Regions from separate parts of the Homo sapiens genome. Here region 2 is linked to region 1. Evidence: promoter capture Hi-C in human tissues and cell types (Jung and others, 2019). All regions are on one chromosome and are shown on one strand. Each heading gives the region's core, a stretch centred on a gene start or on the middle of the fragment in contact. The rest is flanking DNA. Distances are from core to core; before and after follow the strand shown. Region 1 holds the start of CHMP4B (charged multivesicular body protein 4B). Region 2 overlaps ITCH (itchy E3 ubiquitin protein ligase).

What was found. The method cuts DNA at HindIII sites, captures the fragments that hold promoters and counts their contacts. A contact is called where the count stands out against the background at its distance.
Region 2: a fragment that was not itself captured here is called in contact with the fragment with the promoter of CHMP4B in region 1 in 2 of the 25 tissues and cell types used here (adrenal gland and dorsolateral prefrontal cortex).

Annotation. Positions count from the first base shown.
Region 1 is chr20:33,808,441-33,812,880 of GRCh38, forward strand. CHMP4B (charged multivesicular body protein 4B) reads left to right here and starts at 2,908. Exons shown (of 5, transcript NM_176812.5): 1 at 2,908-3,218. The coding sequence starts at 3,029. It overlaps ZNF341-AS1 (ZNF341 antisense RNA 1), which reads right to left and starts at 2,659. Exons shown (of 4, transcript NR_110623.1): 1 at 2,600-2,659. RefSeq lists enhancers at 2,583-2,877, 2,617-2,696, 3,463-4,303, 4,132-4,201 and a silencer at 2,757-3,036. The HindIII fragment of the contact is 9,541 bases long and covers 1-4,440 here.
Region 2 is chr20:34,453,406-34,457,956 of GRCh38, forward strand. ITCH (itchy E3 ubiquitin protein ligase) reads left to right here. Exons shown (of 25, transcript NM_031483.7): 13 at 3,985-4,069. Among named protein-coding and RNA genes, the nearest start is that of MIR644A, 11 kb to the right of the region's middle. The HindIII fragment of the contact is 4,557 bases long and covers 1-4,142 here.

The DNA.
Region 1 (4,440 bases), core at 1,658-4,157:
TGCCTGGCCTCTTTCTTTTTAATTCATAGAAGTGTGGCTGCAGAAGTTGTAATCCTTTGGTGACCACACGAGTGGTTTTAATGCTGTGTTCTATCTGAGGATTGAATTCCATAATTTTGTCCTTTAATGTCTGTGCAATTTGAAACACTCGGCAAATTTTGATAACACCCATATTGCTGGTTCTGTTTCTGTTTCTCCTTCATTTTCCTCTTTCTTTGTAGATGACTTGACAAGTTCTTCCAATTCCACATTTGTTAACACTTCCCAGTGGCCTTCAATATGATCTTCCACTTCTTCATCAAGCATGTCCCCAAATCCTTCTCCACCAACTTGTCTTGCTGTAGCCTCTCCAGTAATATTTATTTATTTATTTGTGACAGGGTCTCACTCTGTCACCCAGGCTCGAGTGCAGTGGTGAGATCACAGCTCACTGCAGTTTCAAACTCCCAGGCTCAGATGATCTTCATGGCTCAGTCTCCTGAGCAGCTGGGACTATAGGCCTGTGCCATCATGCCCAGCTAAATTTTGTATTTTTTGTAGGGATGGGGTTTCGCCATGTTGCCCAGGCTGGCCTCAACTCCTGGGCTCAAGCGATCCACCTGCCTTGGTCTCCCAAAATGCTGGAATTACAGGCGTGAGTCACCGCACCCAACCTCCAGTAACTTTTTTTTTTTTTTTTGACACGGAGCCTCGCTCTGTTGCCCAGGCTGGAGTGCAGTGGTGCCATCTCGGCTCACTGCCAGCTCTGCCTCCCGGGTTCACGCCATTCTCCTGCCTCAGCCTCCTGAGTAGCTGGGACTACAGGCGCGTGCCACCATGCCTGGCTAATTTTTTTGTATTTTTAGTAGAGATGGAGTTTCACCGTGTTAGCCAGGATGATCTTGATCTCCTGACCTCGTGATCCGCCCGCCTCGGCCTCCCAAAGTCCTGGGATTACAGGCATGAGCCACCGCGCCCGGCCTTTTTTTTTTTTTTTTTTTTGACACGGAGTCTCTCTCTGTCGCCCAGGCTGGAGTGCAGTGGCGCAATCTCGGCTCACTGCAAGCTCTGCCTCCTGGGTTCACGCCATTCTCCTGCCTCAGCCTCCAGAGTAGCTGGGACTACAGGCACCCGCCGCCACCATGCCAGGCTAATTTTTTGTATTTTTAGTAGAGACGGGGTTTCACCTTGTTAGCCAGGATGGTCTCGATCTCCTGACCTCGTGATCCGCCCGCCTTGGCCTCCCAAAGTGCTGGGATTACAGGCGTGAGCCACCGCGCCCGGCTCCAGTAATTTTTTTTTTCTTTTTGAGACAGAATTTTGCTCTTTTCGCCCAGGCTGGAGTGCAATAGCACGATTTCAGTTTACTGCAACCTCTGCCTCTCAGGTTCAAGTGATTCTCCTGCCTCAGCCTCCCAAGTAGCTGGGATTACAGGCGTGCGCCACCACGCCCAGCTAATTTTTTTATTTTTATTTTTTATTTTTAGTAGAGATGGGGTTTCACCACGTTGGCCAGGCTGGTCTCAAACTCCTGACCTCAGGTGATCCATCCGCCTAGGCCTGCCAGAGTGCTGAGATTACAGGTGTGAGCCACTGTGCCCAGCCCATCCAGTAATTTTTATATTTTGCAGTCTAAACCTATTCCTAAGTCAGTGCAACCATCCATTACTTTCAGTAAGTGGCTTGGTGCCACTGGTTTTAGGAGATTCCTTGCTGAAGCCTTTATACAGGCTCAATGCTTTCTGGGGGGTAACAGGTTGCTGTCAGTTGGAACACATTTTTTGTTCGTGTCTTCCACGTATAAGCTTAATGCTTTTTCTTTTCTTTTGTAAAAAAATTTATTTTCTTTTTTTCCCCTGTAAGTAAGGATACAACTTAATGCCTTTTCTATCTTAACTAAGCACTTATCACACACTGTGGCTGTAACTTTTGCAGTTTGAGGTACGACAGCAAAACCAGCATGAATTTCTTTTTCCTCTTTCACAATTCTAGGGCTAGAAGATTCGTTCTTACTGCAGACCTCAGTAAGCTCAGCATACGATTTTTTTTCTTAAGCTCAGAACTTCCACATTTACATTTAAAGGAAGCACTTTACAGCTTCATTTTGGCATATCCAAACTGCCAGCATTACTACTCTTGCACTTTGGGGCCATTATATAGTAAAATGAGGGTTACTCGAACCAAAGCACTGCAACACCGTGGCAGTCCATCTGATAACTCCTAAGCTGGTAAGTAACTAACAGATGGTAGAGGTATGTTGGACAAAGGGATGATTCACATTGCAGGTAGGATGGAACAGGATAGCACGAGATTTCATTAGGCCAATGGAAATTAAAAACTTATGAACTGTTTATTTCTGGAATTTTCTATTTAATACTGTCAGACCTTAGCTGGCCAAGTGAAACTACTCAAAGTAAAATCTCAGATAAGGGGGACACTACCGTACTTAACTGGAGAAGATACTGCTTTGCTTCTGTGACCACAGAATTGACAGGTTGAAATTGGAAACAACTGTTGCCTTCACGCTTTTAAGACAACTTCACATGAATATACATGTGAAGTTCAAGCATGGCAGTATCCCATACTAGCAATAAATTTTTGAGCAGTGTTGCACACTTACTGTCATTTCTCTTACTGTTCTGCCACTCCTACAGAGCGCAGGCCAAGGAGACTACATTTCCCAGAATGCCACACGCCCTTTGACCCCAGCTACAGCAAAAGACGCGCCGGGGAGCGCCTGAAGCCGGAAGACTATAGCTTCCCGGCATGCAGCACGCTTCCCCCTATTAGATTTGAGGCGCGGCCGGCGCGTTGCCCACTGGGAGTTGTAGTCAGTGGCGCGTTGCCCTGACGCCTGCCGGGCCGGGCGTGGGGGCCTGTGGGAGGTGGCGCGGCCGGGCCCAGCTGCGGGGCGGAGGCGGAGGCGGAGGAGAGGCCTGCGGCGGCAGGGAGCGGCGGGACTGGGAGCGGGCGCCGGAGCCGACCCGAGCCGAGCCGAGCCGAGCCGAGCCGGAGCGGGCGGCGAAGGCCGGCGCGGCGAGCAGCAACCATGTCGGTGTTCGGGAAGCTGTTCGGGGCTGGAGGGGGTAAGGCCGGCAAGGGCGGCCCGACCCCCCAGGAGGCCATCCAGCGGCTGCGGGACACGGAAGAGATGTTAAGCAAGAAACAGGAGTTCCTGGAGAAGAAAATCGAGCAGGAGCTGACGGCCGCCAAGAAGCACGGCACCAAAAACAAGCGCGGTGAGGCTGCCCGGCCCCTTCAGACTTGCCACGGGCTCCCCCCAGGCTCCCCGGGCCCGGACTTCACCTTCATCAGACTCGCCTCGGGGTCTGGTCTGACCCTGGAACTCTCCGGGTCAGACTTCTTGCCGGGTCTGGGACCCCCTCCCCGACTCCCTTCAATGTCTCCCCGATCCCTGGACTTTTCCATCGTCAGACTTATTCTGCCCTCTCCCCTCAGCCTCTCTCCACCCCGCCAGGTCCCTTCAGACCCCAATCTCACAGCACTTTCCTCCGCCCTCACTCTGTCCCTTTCTCTTCCGCCTTTTCCTTCTCGCCTCACCCACCTGCCTAGCTACTGCCCCTGCCTCCTCCTCGGCTCATTTCTGCCCCCATCCTAGCATTTCTGTGCTTCCTGGTCCTACCTGTGCCCTCTCCCGACTCCTCGGTGGAATCTGTGAGCTGCCCCTTGGCCTCTCCCCTGTCCTCTTGTCTCAGAATTCTCGTTGAAAAGCCTCCTTGCTGGAGAGAAAAGGGGACTGGGGGAGATGAGACCCCCGATTCCTGCTCTATTCACTTGCTGAGTGAACTTGAGCAAGTTGCTTTCCCTTTGAGGCCTCAGTTTCCCCATCCGTCAGCCAGAGTTCGGCCTCTGTTGAGGCCTAAGGTGTTTTCCAGCGTTGTGATTCACTTTTTGTTGCCTCGTAGCTTGACCTTACCAAAGTTTCCCGTGGCGCAAGCCTTCACCCCATGACTCACCGCTTCCCCATCCGTCTGAACCAGAAATAGAGACTCCCGACTGCTCCCCAGTCCCCACTACTAGGATTCAGGGCCCCAGTATTGAATCTTGAGGCACTGCTTACTTTACTTCCTGTTGTCGTATGGCTTTCTGGGCATTCCAAGTGCTTTGTGTTTTTCTTAAGTGAGATGAATGTGAAAATGCTTTAAAACTGTAAAGCAGTTTAGAAATGTTTGCTTTTTCTTGTTATGGCCATGTGAGAGTGAATCACAGAACGACATCCCTTCCCCTTGAGAGGGGTTTAGGATTGAGGTAATTCACTCAGAAGTCTGCTAGTGACTAGCAGTGCGACCTTGAGCTCATTTACCTTTCTGAAAGGAAAATCATGGATTTACAGTGCTCAGCACATAGTAGGGGCTAAATCGATGTTTTCTCCATTCTAATAGGAGAACAAAATAGCCTATCTGGAGGATGCTTCTCTGCTGATAGTCAACAGATATTCTG
Region 2 (4,551 bases), core at 614-3,113, 640 kb after region 1:
GGCTGGGGCAACATGGTGAAACCCCATCTTTACAAAAAATACAAAAATTAGTTGGGTGTGGCATGCCTGTAGTTCCAGCTACTTGGGTGGCTGAAGTGGGAGGGTTGCTTGAGCCCCGGAGGTCAAGGCTATAGTGCGCTGTGATTGTATCACTGCACTCCAGCCTGGACAACAGAGTGATACTCTTTCAAAAAACCAAAAGAGAGAGAAAAAAGTTGAGTATGTGCTCAGCTATATACTTAGGGTATTATTTTTAGGTTATAAAAATTATTTGGATATATATTTTTAAACAAGAAAGAGAATTCTGGCTGGGTACGGTGGCTCATGCCTGTAATTCCAGCACTTTGGGAGGTCGAGGCGGGTGAATCACCTGAGGTCAGGAGTTCGTGATCAGCCTGGCCAACATGGTGAAATGCTGTCTCCACAAAAAATACAAAAATTAGCTGGGAGTGGTGGTGGACGTCTGTAGTACCAGCTATTTGGGAGGCTGAGGCAGGAGAATTGCTTAAACCTGAGAGGTCGAGGCTGCAGTGAGCTGAGATCGCGCCACTGCACTCCAGTCCAGCCTGGGTGACAGAGCAAGGCTCCGTCTCAAAAAAGAAGAAGAAGAACAAAGAGAGAATTCTGGATTCTGCAAATAAATTTTTAAAATTTAATGCGACTGCCAAGACATGAACTTATCTTGCTGTTATGTTAACAAGAGCAAGCTGTAACACTGTGGGTGATTATGTTTTTCTTTTTTTTTTTTTTGAGACGGAGTCTCGCTCTGTCGCCCAGGCTGGAGTGCAGTGGCGCGATCTCGGCTCACTGCAACCTCCGCCTCCCGGGTTCACGCCATTCTCCTGCCTCAGCCTCCCGAGTAGCTGGGACTACAGGCGCCCGCTACCACGCCCGGCTAATTTTTTGTATTTTTAGTAGAGACGGGGTTTCATTGTGTTAGCCAGGATGGTCTCGATCTCCTGACCTCGTGATCCGCCCGCCTCGGCCTCCCAAAGTGCTGGGATTACAGGTGTGAGCCACCGCGCCCGGCCTATGTTTTTCTTTAGAGACAGCCTTTGAGTTGGTGATAAGCTTATGCACTGAAGATGCCTTGACCAGCAAAACCTGTGTCATGAGAGGCAGAGTCCCACTTTTCTGTATATTATGCACATTGGAATTCTATTTTCATTTTAAGCTAAGCTGACATAGAAAGTAGCTTTAAATGTCAGAAGCAGGTTTGTGATACTCACTAGTTACATCCATTTTAACCTCTGTTATCACTACTACTTGAAATCATGGAATTATATTGGAAATAAAATTAAATATTACCAAATACGAACTTGACAAGACTATAATTTGGCCTAAAACTGATCCAGATGATCTCAAGTGTTAATTTGAAAAATAGTTACCAATTTTTCTTTTTTCTTTTCCTGTTTTTTTTTTTTTTTTTTTTTTTTTTTTTGAGATGGAGTTTTGCTCTTGTCGCCCAGGCTGGAGTGCAATGGCATGATCTTGGCTCACTGCAACCTCTGCCTCCCGGGTTCAAGCGATTCTCCTGCCTCAGTCTCCCTAGTAGCTGGGATTACAGATGCCCACCACCATGCCCAGCTAATTTTTGTATTTTTAGTAGAGACGGGGTTTCGACCTGTTGGCCACGCTGGTCTCAAACTCGTGACCTCAGGCCATCCGCCTGCCTTATAACTCCCAGAGTCCTGGGATTACAGGCGTGAGCCACAGCGCAGGACCAATAGTTAACCAATTTTTCAAACCACAGGAAATAAAAATTAGCCATGTCAACATGGATTAAACTTAAATTTTTGTTTAAAATGCTGATTTTTAGAAACTAAGCTTTTTAAAAAGTTTCAGTTCATTCTATGATCTTTAATACATCAGTTCATTCTATGATCTTTAATACATCAGTTATTCATTTTGAGACATGTTGAACAAATAAATTAGGATACAGCAGGAATCCCATCTTTTGAAGAATTCATTGGTAATGGGACAGAGAAGTCAGTAATTCAAAAACAGCAGAACTGTTAAAATTTCAAGTCTACTTAATTTGTTTACTAAAAGAGAAAATGATATCCACATTTTTTTTTTTTTTTTGAGACGGAGTCTTGCTCTGTCGCCAGGCTGTAATCCATCTCGGCACACTGTAACCTCTGCGTCCCGGGTTCAAGCAGTTCTCCTGCCTCAGCCTCTCGAGTTGCTGGGACTACAGGTGCACACCGCCATGCCTGGCTAATTTTTTTTTTTTTTCTTTTTTGTATTTTAGTAGAGACGGGGTTTCACCATGTTGCCCAGGTTGGTCTTGAACTCCTGAGCTCAGGCAGTCCGCCCGCCTCTGCCTCCCAACGTGCTAGAATTACAGGCATGAGCTACTGCGCCCGGCCAATATCCACATCTTCTAAACCTTAATGGGGAGATTTCAGGAAAGCAGGTAAAATTTTGTAGACTGGGAACACGAAAACAGGGAGAATCCTAAAGCAAGAGGCAGTTGGGGAACAAGCAGCAGCTTTAGATGCAGTAATTAGAGAACTGAGTTCTGCTTCCTATCCCTTGTATAGAAAGTTACTGTAGATATTTAGGATTTTGGAACTGGGTATATTAAGGAACGAGATATGTTAAGTGTATTAAGAAAGGAAGTATTTTTTAGTTGAATAATGCCTAGCATATACCTTATATTATATTCCTTATTTTGTATATATATGTATGTATATATACACACTCTCAAATTACATTATATTCCTTATTTTATATATATTTTTATATATTGTGTGTGTGTGTGTGTGTGTGTGTGTATATATATATATATATATATATATATATATTTTTTTTTTTTTTTTTTTTTTTTTTTTGAGACAGGGCCTCACTTTGTCACCCAGGCTAGAGTGCAGTGGCATGATCTCAGCTCACTGCAGTCTTGACCTCCCAGGTTCAGGTGACCCTCCTGCCTTAGCCCCGGAAGTTGCTTCTCTGTCCCATTACCAATTAATTCTTCAAAAGATGGGACTCTTCTGGTATCCTAATTTTTTTATTTGTTCAACATGTCTCAAAATGAATAACTGATGTATTAAAGATCACAGAATGGATTCAAACTTTTTAAAAAGCTTAGTTTCTAAAAATCAAGTTGTACAAGTTGTGGGGCTAAGGCAGGAGGATCACCTGAACCTGGGAGGTCAAGGCTGTAGTGAGCTGAGATCACGCCACTGCACTCCAGCCAGGGTGACAAAGTGAGACCTTGTCTCCAAAAAAAAAAATATATATATATATATGTGTGTGTGTGTGTATTTATATATACAAATGTATATTTAATATATATCAAATATATATATTAGTGGGCTGCCAGCACGGCCCACTAATTTTTTTGTATTTTTTGTAGAGATGAGGGTTCACCATATGGCCCAGGCTGGTCTCAAACTCCTGAGCTCAAGCAATCTACTTGCCTTGGCCTCCCAAAGTGCTGGGATTACAGGCCTGAGCCACCCCGCCTGGCACCTTACTATATTTTAATGAATGAAATGATGTAGTATGGAAAAAAAAAAAATCCCTAAATGGAGACCTGAGTTTCCATCTCATCTCTGCTACTTAATTCTGAGGTTTCAGGTAGATTATTTAACCTATCTGAGTTTTCTTATCTTAAGGATAAAGATGAATTCACCTACCCTATGGGACTATTAAGAATAAAATGAAGGTCCTGTGTAAAAAACTAAATAACTGTTCATTATTCTTGCTGCTGTTGGTTGGATTGAGTAGAAAGGTCCTATGGTTAGGACATTATAAAGTACGTCTACTTAGCTTCTAAGATGTAATATTTCTATAACTTCAGTAAGGATGTGCATTTAATAGTCAATAAATTAAACCTTTTAAAGCTGTGATTTAAAAACTATAAAATAAACAATGAAATGAGAAATGGGCAAATTCAAATAATTTTATTTTACCTTGAGCAAGAAGACTATGCCAATGCTAATGCTTTGCTTTCCCCTGCCCCTGCCCTTCCCAAAGAGAAGAGAACAGACAGCAATGGCAGAGTATATTTCGTCAACCACAACACACGAATTACACAATGGGAAGACCCCAGAAGTCAAGGGTAAGAATAGTTACTTGTGTATATTTAATCTCTTAAAGATTATACCTTATTTCTAACAACTGAAGAAGATCAAAGTTCATATTCTTTTGCCAAAGACCTAAAACGTTAATCACCTACATACTTTGGAAAGAGAAAATTATACTATTATTTTCATCTAATGGAAAGTTTGAAGATTTCTTCAAAGTGCAGGAAAAAACTTTAACTGGGCATGGTGGCTCATGCCCATTATCCCAGCACTTTGGGAGGCCAAGGAGGGAGGATTGTTTGAGGCCAGGAAGACCTGCGTAATGCAGTGAGACCCTGTCTCTACAAAAAAAATCCCCAAAATTGGGTGTGTTGGCATGTATACCTGTAGTCCCAGCTACTCGGGAGACTGAGGTGGGAGGATCACCTGAGCCCAGGAAGTCGAGACTGCAGTGAACTATGATTGTGCCAGTACACTCCAACCTGGAGGACAGGTTGAGGGCTGTTTCAAAAAAAAA